5 separate regions of the Homo sapiens genome follow, and regions 2, 3, 4 and 5 are each linked to region 1. The links are contacts of gene promoters, found by promoter capture Hi-C in blood cells and fetal thymus (Javierre and others, 2016). All regions are on one chromosome and are shown on one strand. Each heading gives the region's core, a stretch centred on a gene start or on the middle of the fragment in contact. The rest is flanking DNA. Distances are from core to core; before and after follow the strand shown.

Evidence for each region. The method cuts DNA at HindIII sites, captures the fragments that hold promoters and counts their contacts. A CHiCAGO score of 5 or more calls a contact.
Region 2: a contact is called between a fragment that was not itself captured here and the fragment with the promoter of XXYLT1 in region 1, in 1 of 17 cell types (neutrophils). The highest score is 5.3, in neutrophils.
Region 3: a contact is called between the fragment with the promoter of TMEM44-AS1 here and the fragment with the promoter of XXYLT1 in region 1, in 1 of 17 cell types (neutrophils). The highest score is 5.2, in neutrophils.
Region 4: a fragment that was not itself captured here is called in contact with the fragment with the promoter of XXYLT1 in region 1 in 4 of 17 cell types (total CD8 T cells, naive CD4 T cells, total B cells and 1 more); the score reaches 7.5 in total CD8 T cells.
Region 5: a fragment that was not itself captured here is called in contact with the fragment with the promoter of XXYLT1 in region 1 in 12 of 17 cell types (activated CD4 T cells, naive CD4 T cells, naive B cells and 9 more); the score reaches 11.1 in activated CD4 T cells.

Annotation. Positions count from the first base shown.
Region 1 is chr3:195,269,456-195,272,770 of GRCh38, reverse strand. It overlaps XXYLT1 (xyloside xylosyltransferase 1), which reads left to right and starts at 1,612. Exons shown (of 4, transcript NM_152531.5): 1 at 1,612-2,216. The coding sequence starts at 1,713. RefSeq lists silencers at 982-1,211, 1,462-1,991, 2,152-2,331 and an enhancer at 1,582-2,373. The HindIII fragment of the contact is 17,042 bases long and covers 1-3,315 here.
Region 2 is chr3:194,484,970-194,488,284 of GRCh38, reverse strand. ATP13A3 (ATPase 13A3) reads left to right here and starts at 1,283. Exons shown (of 34, transcript NM_001367549.1): 1 at 1,283-1,719; 2 at 2,450-2,491. ATP13A3-DT (ATP13A3 divergent transcript) reads right to left here and starts at 1,145. Exons shown (of 2, transcript NR_033929.1): 1 at 1,113-1,145; 2 at 1-829. RefSeq lists an enhancer at 264-483 and silencers at 1,154-1,813, 1,844-1,893, 1,984-2,043. The HindIII fragment of the contact is 1,515 bases long and covers 900-2,414 here.
Region 3 is chr3:194,582,203-194,585,517 of GRCh38, reverse strand. It overlaps TMEM44-AS1 (TMEM44 antisense RNA 1), which reads right to left and starts at 1,250. Exons shown (of 3, transcript NR_047575.1): 1 at 1,070-1,250. RefSeq lists enhancers at 1,234-1,283, 1,319-1,984 and a silencer at 1,474-1,733. The HindIII fragment of the contact is 5,912 bases long and covers 1-3,148 here.
Region 4 is chr3:194,648,897-194,652,211 of GRCh38, reverse strand. LSG1 (large 60S subunit nuclear export GTPase 1) reads left to right here. Exons shown (of 14, transcript NM_018385.3): 9 at 996-1,097; 10 at 1,188-1,331. Among named protein-coding and RNA genes, the nearest start is that of TMEM44, 17 kb to the right of the region's middle. The HindIII fragment of the contact is 3,313 bases long and covers 409-3,315 here.
Region 5 is chr3:194,689,846-194,693,160 of GRCh38, reverse strand. No RefSeq gene overlaps it. Among named protein-coding and RNA genes, the nearest start is that of FAM43A, 5.6 kb to the right of the region's middle. The HindIII fragment of the contact is 8,231 bases long and covers 1-3,315 here.

The DNA.
Region 1 (3,315 bases), core at 363-2,862:
GCTCTTGTCGCCCAGGCTGGAGTGCAGTGTTATGATCTCGGCTCACTGCAACCTCCACCTCCCAGGTTCAAGCGATTCTTCTGCCTCAGCCTCCTGAGTAGCTGGGATTACAGGCGCCCGCCACCATGTCTGGCTAATTTTTTGTATTTTTAGTAGAGACGGGGTTTCGCCATGTTGGGCAGGCTGGTCTCGAACTCCTGGCCTAAGGTGATCTGCCCTCCTCGGCCTCCCAAAGTGCTAGGATTACAGGCGTGAGCCACCATTCCCGGCCTAAGCCACCATGCTTGGCCTTGCTTTATTCTTATGGTTAAATATTTTGAACATTCTTAAATTATTAGGAAGATTTTCTAGAAATAAAAATGCTGTTTCAATGGTTGAGTATATTTTTGAGACTCATCCAATGTGGTAGGCACCGTGTTAGGTACTGGGTATATTGTGGTTAATAAAAAACAAATGTATATTCTGTTCTCTTGGAGTCACGTGTTCTTGCAATGAAGAAAGATGAGACTAGGGTAGTACATATATTTAGGTGGCCCTCACAGAATTATTGAGGATGGCACTTAGCCCAGACACTGGATAGGAGGTATTTAGAGATCATTTGTGTAGGTAGTGACATGTAAGCCAAGGTCTGAAGCAGAGAGGTTGGATAATCCATGCAACCTTACAATGTGGAAATAACAGGAAAAACCGTTTACCTAATCTCTGGTCAGAAATCAGAGAACTTGGCCAAAGAACTGAAGGGTTACTGTACTTACTCAAGTTCTTTGTCTATTTAGACAGCATGCACAGCACTTGCACGTGTTTACTTAAAAACTACTGGTATAGCCTCAATTCTTAGAAGACTGAAGTTAGTACGTTTTTATCTAGTTAGCAGTGTGCAACTGCCTAGGGTCAAAATTGCTACTGGCTAGCTGTGTGACTTTGGGCACGTGACCTCGGCGTGCAAAACTCCCTGGTACCCTCAAGGAGGCTCTTGATAAAGTGTTAAAAGTCTGTTTATAAAACAAAAGTGGATGAATGTCGCCCTCCAGGGCTTTGCGGTGCTGGGGCTCGGGGAGCAGCCTCGCAGGTTCGTGCGGGCGGCGGGGGCCCCCTGCTGGCCACATCCTCCAGCCTCCCTCCGCTCGGCCTCCGGCGCGACGTGCGGCCCGGGCCATTTCCTCCCAGGGCGGGGGAAAAGGGAGGAGCTGCCGGTTTAAATTGCCTAGCTGCAGCTCGTGTGCAGGGAGAGGCCGAGACGGCTTAAAGCCTCCAAGAAATTGAGGGAAAAAAGGTGCAGAGATTAAAGTTTTACCTCTTGGTGCCTCCAGCTTCGCTTTTGGCTAACCTAAGTTCCTCTGTTCGGGCGCCTCCATTCCCTTCAACACTCAGCTTGGATATCCTCTGGGGCTCGCCGCGTAGGGCGCCATTTCTCAGCCGGGACAGCGGGCCAGCCCTCAGCACGCTGGAGTCCGGAATCCCCCCCTCCCAACGCCGGGCGCCGGATCCCACCCTAACCCCTCCTCTAATACCCTTGGAACCTAGGACCCAGCGGTTTCGGCACGCCCGGCCCCGCCCCTCCGCGCACCGGCGCCCGCGATTGGCTCCAGGCGGCGCGGCCCCGCCCCTTTCATGGCCGCCGCCTGGCGCCGGGGCTAAGTGGCCGCCGGCGTCCGGGTACCCGAGGGCTCTCCCGCGTTGCTGGCACCGCTGGCGCCGCGGTCTCGTAGCGCATGGGCCTCCTCCGAGGCGGGCTCCCATGCGCTCGGGCCATGGCGCGCCTGGGCGCTGTGCGCTCCCACTACTGCGCCCTGCTGCTGGCCGCGGCGCTGGCCGTCTGCGCCTTCTACTACCTCGGCTCAGGCCGGGAGACCTTCTCCAGCGCCACCAAGAGGCTGAAGGAGGCCCGCGCCGGGGCTCCCGCCGCGCCCTCGCCGCCCGCGCTGGAGCTAGCGCGGGGCTCCGTGGCGCCAGCCCCCGGCGCGAAGGCCAAGAGCTTGGAGGGCGGCGGTGCCGGGCCGGTGGACTACCACCTGCTGATGATGTTCACCAAGGCGGAGCACAATGCCGCGCTGCAGGCCAAGGCCCGCGTCGCGCTGCGCTCACTGCTGCGCCTCGCCAAGTTCGAGGCGCACGAGGTGCTTAACCTTCACTTCGTGAGCGAGGAGGCCAGCCGCGAGGTGGCCAAGGGCCTGCTGCGGGAGCTCCTGCCGCCCGCCGCTGGCTTCAAGTGCAAGGTGAGCGGGCCGCGGCTGGGGGCTCCCGGTGGGTGGCCCACCCCATCCTAGGCGAGGTCAGTTTGCGCTCCCGGAGGGGATCCGGGGAACTAGCGGGTAGGATCTTCCCTGAGCTGCCCGCTTGCAATGTAGTGTTCACAACCTGCGGGAGGGCTCGTTCGGGGGCGTGTCCGGGAGCCAGACGCCCTCAGCTGGTGCTGAGGAGTGGAGCTGCGTTTTTAATGACCGCCTCGTTTTCCTCTCCCCCAGTTAAGCGCAGCCCCCAGGAGAGTCCGCGCGCCCCCATTTTGCTAACGTTGCAGGGTTCAGCACTGCCTTCAGAGTCTGCACCTCTGTTTATGTTCCTCAGTTTTTGACTTCTGAGGATGGGACTGGTCACCAGTAGTCATCCTGAGCAACTGGAGAGGGCCTTGGTGAGGCCTCTGGAAGTGTTGAAGTTGCAGTGACACTTCTCATTGCTCTTAAGGTATTTCAGTAGGATCTGGTCAAACTCATTGTGAACCATCTTATCTCCTCTCTGTGTCCCTTTTTCCCCTTCCTCCAAGGGTCATGAACCCATTTAGAGAAGCCTGGAGTTCCTCCGAATGAGGAAGAGAAAGCTCAAGAGGAACAGATATGATCTGGGGAGAGCACAGCTGGCCGCCTTGTCCCAGGCTGGACCAGTCTGCCTCCATGACAGCTTCCATCTCTGTTTATCATCTGTCTTCACTGCCTGGCTCTCCTTGTCTGAGATGTGTTTCTGACATAGTGTGAATTGCCTAGGTCAAATTGCTTATTTGATTTTGACCTAATAGTTGTACAGAGGGGATCCGAGGCCAGATTTTAAGGAGTAGTAGGTAATATTAAAGGGTGGAGACTGATGTTGGTTGGGGAAGCATGCTGAGACAGGAGTTGTATTATGTGAGTGACTAGGGGAGCTGTTGCCAGGATCCTACAGGCTTCGGGAGTCTCTGATAGCTCCTTGTTGCCTACGGGGTGAAGTCCCAGTTTATTGGTAGGGCTGTTGTGTTGTGAGCCTGGTCCACTTCTCTGGCTTCACCTCTCCTCCTTTGTCTACATGCACCTCATACCTTAGCTATGTAGGGAGTGGGCCTTATAC
Region 2 (3,315 bases), core at 408-2,907, 780 kb after region 1:
GACCGTTTTCTTGTGGTTTGCCCAACACTACCACACACCCCTTAATCTCATTTAATCATTTCAACACCACGAGGTTTGAAACAAACGGTGAGGTATGAAACAAAACGGTGAGGCCAGGGATTGGGAAGAGAAAGCTGTGGTTCCATCTCGGTCCAGCGTGCTGTCCACGCCAAGAGGCGGGCAGAAATGCTAGCCTCACACAATCTAGGGGACCAGGGGTGGCTGTGGCGCCCTCCTGCCCGCAGGAGGTGTTATCAGTGTCGCGGACTCGGGCGGTGTGCTGCCCCTGGTGAGATGTCATCACGTGCGTGGACCAGGGGTGGCGGCCCTGGTAAGTGTCCAGGGACTAAGGGCTCCCTGCTCTCCAGGTGTGGTGGACGGGGTCCGCATGCATGCCGTCCTCTTCTCTAAGACGCTAAGGCGGCTGAGTTCTGTAAGTAGCGGCAAGAAGAACAGTCACGGAGCGGGCCGGGCACAAAGGGCGCAGGCCAGGTGGCCCCAGGCGGAAAGATGGCCGCAGCCAGAGGCTGCAGGTGGCCGGGCGCGCTCCCTGCGCGCGTCGCGGAGAGGACGCAGCGAAAATCAAACCCGCGATTTGGAAATCCGGCTGCGGCCCTACCCCGAGATAAGTCTTCTGCGGAGGGAAGTATTTAATTTGCATCCAGGACGGTCGGAAGAGGCGCCTTCCCGTCGGAGGCGAGGCGCGGGCGCGTGGGAGCTTTCTCGTGTGCGCTCCTCCCTGTCCTCCGCCTGCGGCCGGGGCGCAGAGTCCGTGGTCATATGAGAATGACAGTTTTTTGTCTGTTTGTTTTGGCGGGGGCGAGGGTGGCTAAAGGAATGAAAGAGCCTTGCATTAGGAGCTGGGCTCTGGTTTCCTCTCCACCATTCTAGCACAAGCTTCCTCCATGACCATGACTCTGGGCAACGTCTGTCTAGTCACTGAGCCTCAGTTTCCCTGTTCATAAAATGGGAGATTGGACTATGATGTTGTCATAGCCCAAAGGGGATGAAGTGGGATTTGCCGTTCCATTTCATCCCACCAGAAAAGCCGCCCTCCATTAGCCACCCCGGGCTGACACCCAGCGTTTTTGGACGGCCTCGCCTCCCCTTACCTGCCTCTTTCTTTCTTTTGCCCGTTCGAGGGTGGCAAAGGCGATGGGTGGGCGGGGCCTATAAATCGCCCCGCCCCTCCCCGCCCCTTCCCCGCCTCCTGACGTCGCCCGCGCCCCTCCGCCCTCCGCGCGGGGATGAAGCCACCACGTGACCTCACATCCGGCGCGGGAGTCCTGAGCCCGCGCGCGCTCCCCCGCCTGCCTGCCGGCTCTCCCCGCAGCGTGATCGGGCGCCGCCGCGGAGGGGAGGGGGGTTCTCTACGTCGCTGGCGGCGGGGGGGCCGTTTCGGAGTGCAGACCGCCCCCCTCCCCTGCCCACCTCCCGCCGCCCTCCCTTGTTCTCGCCCTGCCGGCTGCACGCCGCCGCCGCGGGCGCGGAGGAGGAGGAGAGCGCGGACGTCCCAGGGCCGGCCCGGCCCCGCCGCGGCGCCTCCTTCCCTCACCCTGAGCCGCAGCGCGCGGCGCCGGCCGAGGGCGATGGGGCTGGGCTGAGGCGAGGCGGCGGCGGCGACAGCGGCGGCCGGGTCCCCCGCGGTCCCTGGGGCTGGTCCGGCCGCGAGGGAGGCCGCGGAGGAGGCGGCGCGGCGGCGGCCAGTGAGCGGCCCCGGTGAGCGGGGCGAGGGGCGGGTGGGCAGCGGCGCCGGGGGAGGTCGAGGAGGCGAATGGTGGTGTCGGGGCGGCGGGTACCGGGCGAGGTCGCGGCCAGCCTTCTCGGGCCGGAGTTGGGCATCGCGGGGACGGGGAGTGTCGGGGGCAGGTGAGGCCAGGGCAGGAGCCCACGCGGTGGGTGCGAAGGCCTGGGGGGGACGCGCCGCCTGCCGGGGGCGAGCGTGGGGGCCGGGCGCTTGGTGGTTGGTAGTCAGAGCTTTCGGAAAGTCCTGTGGGAGGTGGAGGTCCTGTGGGCAGAGGCGTAGGGGTGCTGGCAGGGCCCTCGATGAGTCTGTGCGGGACCCTAGCTCGTCCTCAGCCGTGGAGTATGGAGCTGCTTGCCATCTCCGCATTTCACAGATAAAAGGAGTGAGTCCCGTGGAGGAAAAGTGACTTCTGACTTGCCTGAGGCCTCCCACTCGGACTCTGTGGCAGTGAGGACTAGAAAAACCCAGGGCCCTTTGCCCTAGCAGTGCTCTCGTGGCCACTCTCGCTATGGCCTTTCTGTCTCTCCATTCCCTTCACAGAGTCAGGTTCTGGTGGAAGTATGACCTCTGGCTTTTTTGGGGAGGTGAGGGGTAGGGATGAAGGGGGAGGGAATCGGGTTGGGATTGGCAGGAACTCAGCTGGGGGCTTCCCGGTGTGGAAGAAGCTTTGTGACAGGTGTTTATTGTTTCCTCTTCCCATAGATCTGACAGACATCCCTGAATCTTGGTGTTTGGACATAGGAGGTATGAATCACTCACATAATTAGCCGCTTTTAATCATCAGTGTCTTAGAGCTATATTTAGTGGTTATATTAGTGCAAAATGAATGGGTGTGGAGTCGTACACCTAGAAACAGACTTGTGTTCCTCTATACGATTCTAACTAAATGAGTAGAACATACCTGGGTATGTCATGGCTACTTTAGATCTATGAGGCAGGAAGTTAGAATTTAAGGAATCTAAGAAATGCAGGGACTTGAAAGATTATTGCAAAATAAAGCCTTTAAAAAGTATCGTTGTTAAAATGAAAGTGTTTCGATTTGATTCCTTTGAAGGGTGAGTACGTAATGAACAGTGCTCTATCTTTGGTTAGAGCTCAGCCTCTTTACCAAGGTACATGTATTAATTTTGTTTCACTGGAATATATGTGACATTATTTTCTCTAGAGGTTTGTTGCTTTGCTTAATAGACTACAGTTGCCAAAAATCAATGTGTGTGGGCATCTCATCCTGGTTTGCAACCCCTTTAAGGCAAATCAGTGCTTGGAAGTTGTTCGAAGTAGTAAACCTATTATTAATGATTGTTGTAGAACATAACTTTTGCTGGTATCTTTGATTTGCATTATCCTACCATTAGATCAGGCAGAGAGTGAAATAATTGAGATTTTGAGCCTTGTTAGAACAACAATGCCTGGCTTTGGTCAGGGGATTGGGTAGGAAAAGTGACACTATTTGGTTGCTTTAAATTTTTTTTTTTTTTTTTGAGATGGCATCTTGCTCTGTTGCCCAGGCTGGAGTGCAGTGGTGTGAACTCGGCTCACTGTAACTTCTGCCTCCTGGGTTTCAGCGA
Region 3 (3,315 bases), core at 1-2,500, 690 kb after region 1:
AATGGCACGATCTCACTTCACTGCAACCTCCGCCTCCCAGGTTCAAGCGATTCTCCTGCCTCAGCCTCCCGAGTAGCTGGGATTACAGGCTCCCGCCACCATGCCTGGCTAATTTTTGTATTTTTAGTAGAGACGCTGTTGGCCAGCCTGATCTGGAACTCCTGACCTCAGGTGATCCACCTGCCTCAGCCTCCCAAAGCGCTGGGATTACACGAATGAGCCACCGCACCCAGCTAAAGATTTTCTTGAAAGCCTGTCTAGATCCTGAAGAACTAATCCCCTTATCTCCCTCCCTCAGTATGATGAAGAGATTTATGAGCATCATTTGAAGACACATTCATATTATGTTTCTTTCAAAGGGGTATGAGCTCCTAGAATAAGAAGAGGCACTGGGCCAAGGAGCATGGCTGGGCTCCAGTTCCCAGGTCTGATTCAGTGTGATCTTTGTCATTTCCTTTTCTATGTCACAGTTTCCTCATCTGTAAACTGAAAGTTGGGCCTGATTTTTTTCATTTTTTCTCTTTTATGCATGTGCCAATTTGTTTCCCACAGAATACTGACATCTTTATAAGCTCTCAAGAAAGACATTATAAAAACAAATTTCAGATATACTTTGAACATAGGCTTCATTATACGACATATACCTCTTTCTGTTTGGATTTTACTGTCCACTTAATATAAAAACCTGTATTAATCACTAAGGAAAAGGATAGAGGAGACTTAGAAATATCTCCAGAATAATTTTGCAACAATTCCAAGATTCTCTGCACTTCTTTTTCTGTCCCTTAATTGGCCTCCTCCACATTTTCCAACTATGGAGGTATTGCTCTACTCTCTTCGACTTTACATTGTTTTAGAATGCTTTTGCAAGGAGACTCTGCCTTGAATGAACCCAAGATATGGTGCAATGTTGAGGAAGATCTCCAAGTTTACACATGCCTGTACGATGGCCCAAAGGTCATCATCAGGTGAAAGGGACGACCTTAGAGATGAAAGAAGTTCAAGGAATGGTGCTACATTAAATGACTTAGCATTAGAAAGCATCTACTTTGCTTTTTCTTTCACCAACCCTGAAAGCCAAATAAGGCACTGGGCATTCAGGCCTTCTTTTGAGCAGAACACGTGATTACGCAGTTATTCTTCAAGAGCCTCTGTTAATCTGTCGCTTGGAGAACTCTGCATACTGTCCCAAATCCGTCTGAATTTTCCATCGGCTGCCAGTGTTCGTAGCAGAGGCCTCGGGTCTTCTCGTCCTCTCCTCAGGGTCTGGCAGCTGTCACTACCGTGGACTTCGGTCCAGTCCCCAGAGTCGGGGGCGCTGCCTTTCCCATTTCAGTTGCCAGGGGGTTCATCCACGATCGTGCCAGAGGGGCAGCGCGTGGTCTCCTCGAACTACGGGGGAGAGAGGAACCACTGTTGGCACGGGCCGGACTGAACGCCGGCTCCCACTGCCTACCTCCTCGGAGCTGCATCCGCCGACATCTTGCGCCCTACTCCCAGCACCAGCAGGGCACTTCCGGGAAGAACGGAATTGCGGTTCCGCGCGTGCGCACTCCGCAGCCACCGCCTCCCGCGAGGAGCGAGAGTCCCGCGGCCCCGCCCCGCCGCCGCAGCCGCCGCCGCAGCCGAAGGCCGGCGTTTCTGACCTCAGCCAGCGGCGACGCAGCCGGGAAAGAACTGTCGAGGGCGTCTCCGTAGTTCAGTTTTGGTTTGTTTATTTGAGACGGAGTCTCTGTCGCCCAGGCTGGAATGCAGTGGCGCGGTCTCTGCTGACTGCAGCCTCCGCCTGCCGAATTCAAGCGATTCTTCTGCGACTGAATAGCTGGGACTACAGGGGCGCGCCACGACGCCCGGCTAATTTTTGTATTTTTAGTGGAGACGGAGTTTCACCATGTTGGTCAGGCTGGTCTCGAACTCCTGACCTCGTGATCCGCCCGCCTCGGCCTCCCAAAGTGCTGGGATTACAGGCGTGAGCCACCACGCCTGGCCCACCCCACTCGGTTTTTAAGGAGATAATTACAAGGTTATTTTACGGTTCATAGTGTGTTTCAGACCTCCCAGAAGCCTAACGGTGTATTATAAACCATTCTTTTCTTTGTTTTTAAATGCATTAAAAACCTTTTTTGAGATAAAAATAGTGCAAGTACATGGTTTAAAAAAAGAAAATCAGATTGCACCAAAAGGTTTATGATGAAAAACAATAATGTTCTGTCCCTTTGCCTCCAAGAGACTCCTTTTTAAAATCTTTTGGGCTGGGCGCGGTGGCTCACGCCTGTAATCCCAACACTTTGGGAGGGTGAGGCGGGCGGATCATCTGAGGTCAGGAGTTTGAGATCAGTCTGGCCAACATGGTGAAACCCCGTCCCTACCAAAAATACAAAAAGTAGCCGGGCGTGGTGGTGGGCGCCTGTAGTCTCAGCTACTTGGGAGGCTGAGGCAGGAGAATCGTTTGAACCGGCGAGGCAGAGGCTGCAGTGAGCTGAGACCGCGCCACTGCACTCCAGCCTAGGCAACAGGAGCAAAATTCTGTCTCAAAAAAAAAAAAAACTTTTATACCTTCTAGTAGTTGTCTCCATTAGGTTTGATTTGGAACATGCTTTCCAGCTACAGGGTTCTTAAGATCATACTTGCTTTTCCTGAGCTGCATCATCTTCAGCTTCCATTATACAGGCTGACGAGGCTCAGTAGCACGGCAGGGCCACTGGCGTATTGAGAAATGGATGGTCACCGTCTTCGCATCCGAGGGTTGTGTGGCGTGCCTCGCGCCAGGAACTCCTTGGCCACTCCGCAGTTTCCTAGCTAGAACCCGGCTTCTGAGCCCAGCACGCTCCAACAGCAGCCTGCCGCGGTCCACGCCTCTGCTCCGGACTTGACCTTTCCCTTCCGGCCTTCCTCCTACAGGTGTCTTGGCACCTGGAATCTCCAGAGGAAATCTGAGGGATTCTCTAAACCCACAGCTGGAACAAGGGACGTCATACACGGCGGCCACCACCATCTTTCCCAAGGACAGCATGGCCATGGATGAAAAGGGCCATTTCATGGGCCTTACCTTCTGCTAGCCAGTATAGCCTAAAGCCCTGATACTCAAATGTAGACTCTTAGGCTCCACCCGGAGGATTCCCTAGGTCTGGGCAGGGCTTGGGAAGCTTAGCAGGCTCCTCAGGTGATTCTGCTACAGATGGTCCAGGACCAGTCTCTGAAAAACACTGTCCTCGGGAAATTGCTTTTATGTATTTACTTTTTCCATCTCTTCTTGGTATTTTGTTATCATTTTCAAATACAGAGACGGAGTCTCACTATGATGCCCAGGCTGGT
Region 4 (3,315 bases), core at 816-3,315, 620 kb after region 1:
CTGCGGAAGTGCGCAAACCCCGAGGGGCTACGACATGGCTCTAGATGGCCCCATCCTTAGCTAAGGAGATGTGAGATGTTAGAGAAGGTATTGATTATAAAGACCTATCCAGAATATAACAGTGAGGGAAAGGAGGTCATGGCATGTTTAAAGTCTCCCAGCTTTTCAGTTACATGCTAAGTGTAGCTAATCCTAGTTAGTTTTGAGCCCCCTTCTCTCTGCCCCAACCCCCTGCCCCAAAATGCCTGTTTAAAATGACTACAGTAGATTAGCATCTTATTTTAGTGCAGTAGTTAAAAGAGCTGTCTGTGGAATCAGACAGACCTAGGTGTAATTCCCAATTCAGCAGTAGAACTAACTTGTTAGGAACACGGGGAAAGTTGCTTAATGTCTCTGAGCTTTAAAGCTTCATTCTCTATATTGTTGCTAAAAATTTGTATCAGAAAGTTCAGCTTCTCTACAAGTTTTCTCACATTTATGGAAAAACTGAGCATCCTCCCTCATTTTCTGAATTTCTTACTCTAGAAATTCTGCAGACACTTATTGATCACCTGCCACATGCCAGACATTCCACTTGGCTTTAACTAAAACGTGACTGAAAATTAAAAATAATTGTGTGTTGTGATTATTCAAATGTCCATCCGATCAGCCTCACCCAGTGTGGAAGATGCGATGGAAACCACTGTCTGTAGATGGGGCAGTGAGGGAAGGCTGGGAACAAGGGGATGAAATTTTCTGTAGCATCTGCTGTTAACAGCAAAACATATAATATTAAAATGTGCATAACTTGGCCATTTGTCACTGGAGATGTGTCTGAATAAATATACCCACACCACAGGAGAAAAAAGATGTCTCAACAAACACAGCATGGATTTCAAATAATTTTCTAAAGTAACCAGATGCTTATGCTAGTCTTGCCACCATCTATGTCATATCTTTGAGTCTTTTGATAGATGTACTGTTTTACTGTTTGGTAACTTCTGAGTCTCTTCTAGGTGGGCTACCCTAATGTTGGTAAGAGTTCAACAATCAACACCATCATGGGCAACAAGAAAGTATCTGTGTCTGCCACACCTGGTCACACAAAGCACTTTCAGGTATTTCTGTGGTGCTTTGCCACTTGCATGCAGCTCTTTCTTCCTTTTATCTGTTGTATACCCAGCTCAAACCTCTTGCTTGTCTTCCAGACTCTCTATGTGGAGCCTGGCCTCTGCCTGTGTGACTGTCCTGGCTTGGTGATGCCATCTTTTGTGTCTACCAAGGCAGAAATGACTTGCAGCGGAATCCTCCCAATTGATCAGATGAGAGATCATGTTCCTCCTGTATCACTAATATCCTTTCTGCTTTGGAAACACTCTAGTTATTACGTGCATATTAGGGCTTCAGGTTTATTTTGGGCATTTGAGGGATTCAGATTTGATGAAGAATTGAAAATACTAGTGATCTGCACAAGTTTATACTGTGAGATAGCATGAGAACTTCAGAATAGAACCTCATTTCCTGATTTCAGCAGTGTAGCCTTGAAGAAATGGGAGAATCCAGGTTTCAGATACTCAGTTCCAAGTTGCAAACCTATTTAACAATGCCATGTAACCGTTTGAATGACCTTGGAAAACTTGCTTAACCTTCCCAAATACTTTCCTTTTCTCTAAGTGGGGGAAAATCTATCTCACGGTTGATTATATTTAATCAGTATAGCTAACATATATTGAATACTTGCTATGTGCTTTTCTAAACCCTTACCAAATACCTTTTAGTCCTCAAAAAGCAACGCTTAAGGCAGATACTGCTGTTATTCCCATTTCCTCAAACTTGAGGAAACTGAGGCACAGAGAAGTTAAATAATTTATCTAAGCTCTTATAGCTAGTAAGCAGTAAATTAGGAACTCTGCTACCTCTCAGCAGCATAATGAATTAACTTACATAAAGCATCTAGGACAGTGCCCAGCATGGAAAAAAGACTCAAAGATGGATTTGTTAAGAACTATGCAGGGGCCAGGTGTGGTGGTTCATGCCTGTAACCCCAACACTTTGGGAGGCTGTGGCAGGCGGATCACTTAAGGCCAGGTTTTGAGACCAGCCTGGCCAACATGGCGAAACCCTGTCTCTACTAAAAATACAAAAATTAGCTGGGCGTGGTGGTGCACACCTGTAGTCCCAGCTACTCGGGAGGCTGAGGCACGATAATCTCTTGAACCTGGGAGGCGGAGGTTGCAGTGAGCTGAGATGGTGCCACTGCCCTCCAGCCTGGGCCACAAAGCGAGACTCTTGCCTTTAAGAAAAAAGAAAATGAAAGAAAAAAAAAACTGCAAGGTCTGAGATTTTACTCTACTTATAAGCTAATAAGTTAGTCTATTATTGTTTTGTAGATACTAGCAGAAAATAGGAGACTTCATGAAATTGGCACACTAATCCGCTGGCTTGTAAGTAGAGTAAAATTCCCTTCATAACTACACTTAAGGCCACAGCTTATTCATAGATACATATATATGAAAAAGTGTATAGCTTTTTTTTTTGTTTTTGAGATGGAGTCTCGCTCTGTCACCCAGGCTGGAGTACAGTGGTGCAATCTCTGCTCACTGCAACCTCCACCTCCTGGGTTCAAGCAATTCTCCTGCCTCAGCCTCCCGAGTAGCTGGGATTAACAGGCATGTACCACCATGCCCAGTTAATTTTTTTTTTTTTTTTTTGGTAGAGATGGGGTTTCACCATGTTGGCCAGGCTGGTCTCAAACTCTTGACCTCAGATAATCTGCCTGCCTCGACCTCCCAAAATGCTGGGATTACAGGCGTGAGCCACCACGCCTGGCCTTTTAAGTTTCTCTGTAAATTAATAGTGAGACATGAATCATTTATTGCAGGTAGCCTTAGGTTAGGTGCTGTGGAGGATAGGGCATAAATAGAGATGGCTCCTGCCCTTTACGAAGCATCAGTCTGTTGGGGCACATGAGGCATGTACTTGAATAACTCTAGTACAAGGTAGAATATTGTTAGTGGCTTAAGGAAAATTTGGACAAACTATGGGAGATGAGACAAAGGAGGAAAAGTAATCCTGCCTAACTGTAGGCATTAGAAACAGAGACTCCCCTTGCTTTATCTCTAAATTAGAATCACAAATGCGTAATCTTTTCAGGGTAAAAATGTGTCATCTTTAAAGTCTGTTTCAGATATATTTTAAATTACTATTTTAAATGAATTCATATGGAAAAGTCGTGGGAGCTTAAGGCCTTGTTTAAAAGGGAAAAAACAACTGAGTCTTTTTAGATTAATCAAAAACTATCCTCTTCCTTTGGAGAGGAGAGAGTGTTTGTCACAC
Region 5 (3,315 bases), core at 225-2,724, 580 kb after region 1:
GCAGTGGGGGTTTGGTCTAGGGGACACTGGGCCTACGAACAGGGGTGAGCCAGAAGGAACAGAAACGGCCCCGGCTACTGGTCAAGCCAGATCCAGGTGTGGCCGCTGTAGTTTGGATATTTGTTCCCCCAAATCTCTTCTTGAAATTTGATCCCAGTGTTGGAGGTGGGGCCTAATGGGAGGTATTTGGGTCATGGAGGTGGATCCCTTATGAATAGGTTAATGCTCTCCCTGTGGGGAGACGGAGGCAATGAGTGATTTCTCTCTCACTCGAGAGCAGGTTGTCCAAAAGAGCCTGGCACTGCCCTTCTCCCTATCTCTTGCTTCCTTCCTCTTGCCATTTGATTCCTGCTCCAGTTCACCTCCCGCCATGAGTGCAAGCAGCCTGAGGCCTCACCAGAGCAGAAGCTGGCACCACACTTCTTGTACAGCCTGCAGAACCTTGAGCCAAATAAACCTCTTTCCTTTATAAATTACCCAGCCTTGCCAGGCATGGTGGCTCATGCCTGTAATCCCAGCACTTCGGGAGGCCAAGGCGGGTGGATCACTTGAGGTCAGGAGCTCAAGACCAGCCTGACCAACATGGTGAAACCCTGTTTCTACTAAAAAAAAAAAAAAGCACAAAATTAGCCGGGTGAGGTGGAGGGCACCTATATTCCCAGCTACTCGGGAGGCTGAGGCAGGAGAATCGCTTGAACCCGGGAGATGGAGGTTGTGGTGAGCCAAGGTCATGCTATTGCACTCTAGCCTGGGCAACAAGAGTGAAACTCTGTCTCAAAATAAATAAATCAATAAATATAAATAAATTACCCAGCCTCAGGTATTCTTTATAGCAACACGAAACGGACTAAGACAGTGGACATGTGCAACAAGCCTGGAGCAGAGAGTGCAGAGCGCCCTGGGCCTAGCACCCTCCTGGCTGCCTGGAGCCCTGAGTAGTTCCCCATGTGTCAGTCATGGCTCCTACCCCAGCAGTCCGTGCACATTTCTAGCTCTGTCATGCATCACTTAGCAGCAGATGCTGGGACTACTGATGCATACCACACAGAGGAAAGAGTTCTGCTTATTAAATTACTAAATCCTGTTTAAAAAGACGGCAACTTGCTCCTAATAGAATTTCTATGTTTCTCGTGATCCTTGGCAACTACAATGAGATTTTTAAATCTCCAGTATGGTGCCAGGGGTAGATTCTTCCAACCAGTTCTCTCTCTACTCACAAGCAGAACCCTCAAAAACAGCTCTGTCCCCTGGGAGGGAATTGTGCTTTCTTAGTATAACAGAGCCTTTCTAATTTGGTTAAAATCTGTTCTGCTGACTGTGGGGCAGTGAGAGGTGTTTCTTTAGGGAAACCATGTGTGTCCACACACGTGTGTGTGGAGGGGGTTCTCTGAAGCTGTCATAGTTGGGAGGGTATGAAATACTATTGTTTATTTTATGCCATTTTATTCCTCCCACCTTCCTGCTTACATATGCGACAAATGGTAGAAGTGAACATGGGATGTTTGTGCTGTGAGGAGTCGATGAATGCCTCCTCCCAGACTCACGCTGCCACCCCTGGAGGACCGCGTGCCGCCGGGAGTCACCCTGTTTTTCATGCAGTCGATGCTGCATTGTTGAACACGGAGGATTACCTAGGCTGGGAAAGAACGTGGAAAGTGTCTCAGTGCATTTAAAGTACCATCAGGTTAAGTCATGGAGAAACATGAGCCTCACTTTGCAGGAAAGAAAAGCTAAATTTGATGAGTAAACCAGACTTCAGGTGTTTTCTGGAAGGTGTATTTTATCTAATGACTTAGCTTTGCTTTTGTCGCTCCATTCTTTTCCCTCTGAGCTCCAGGAGCAAAGTAGTTTTAGGGTCTTTCTTTTATTTTCATTCAAAACATCTCTTCTTACTCTAGTGATATCATCCCTGGAAGACTGAGAAGTCAGAAGAGGTGAATCACGTGTCACCTTCACATCTCTTCTAGAATTACATCAGTCAGAGCTCTGAGGTGCAGTGGGGATCGATGCCAAAAAGCAGAGGGGAGGAAGGAGAGATGGGGAGGGCACAGACGGAGGAGGAAGGGAGCTGGCTCTTTCCAGCCTGCTTATTTTCTTCTTCCTCCTCCTCAACCTTCAAGCCCCCCTTCCTATTTATAAATCACATGAGAGGAAATATCAGACTTTAAAGAGATGGCTGCTTTATATTTATTGATGGTGTTGGTTTCAACACTATTTGCCTGAACTTTTGGACCAACCACCACATGCCTGTCAGTCACAGATGAAAGCCAACATTGGCATTCTCACAGGACACTTAAACTAGATAAGAATGAAGACACACAGACCCTGCCCTGTCTCCCAAGTATTAGCCATATTATCTTCACTCTGTCTCATCTCTTCATCAGTTTCAAACAGCAGAGGAACTTGGCTATGCATGGGAATAATTTCAAATGTGAAATCTAGTCACGCAGGCTAGTGATGGCCCACACAGCCGTCTGCTTATCAGGTGAGCACACTGGTGTGGAAGGGCTGGGATGGGTGGCTGGGCTGAGACTGGACTTTCCTGACCTCTCTCTAGCTGGGGTTTTTAATGTCATTCAATGATGTGTATCTGAGGTATTCAGGGAGAGGGATCGGGACGCACAACCAAGCCAAAATATAATAGATTCAAAGGCCTGGACGTCCTAAGGCCCTTAAGACTGAATTTTTTTTAAATGTTTTCCACTCAGCTGGGTACAGTGGCTCACGCCTGTAATGCCAGCACTTTGGTAGGCTAAGGTGGGCAGATCACCTGAGGTCGGGAGTTTGAAACCAGCCTGACCAACATGGAGAAACCCCATCTCTACTAAAAATACAAAATTAGCCCGGCGTGGTGGCGCATGCCTGTAATCCCAGCTACTTGGGAGGCTGAGGCAGGAGAATCGCTTGAACCCGGGAGGTGGAGGTTGCGGTGAGCTGAGATTGCACCATTGCACTCCAGCCTGGGTGACAAGAGTGAAACTCCGTCTCAAAAAAAAAAAAAAAATATATATATATATACACACACACACACACACACACACACACACACATATTTTCCACTCGCCCCCTTTGCTTTTCTTTTTTAAAGATAGTTCTATGCCTGAACCATTCCTGTTAATTAGGAAGAAAATCTTTCACCCCTCTTTCCTCTATGGTTCCAGTGAATTCCAGACTCCTTAGGATTTCTGGGTCTAGCTGCTCAGAACATATTTATGATGAAAACAAAGCAAAGTGGCCTCAGGACACCAGGGAAGGCCAGGAGTGAGATCCATTTCTGCAACACAGGAAGAGAGGCCTCAAGGGGCAAAAGGAAAA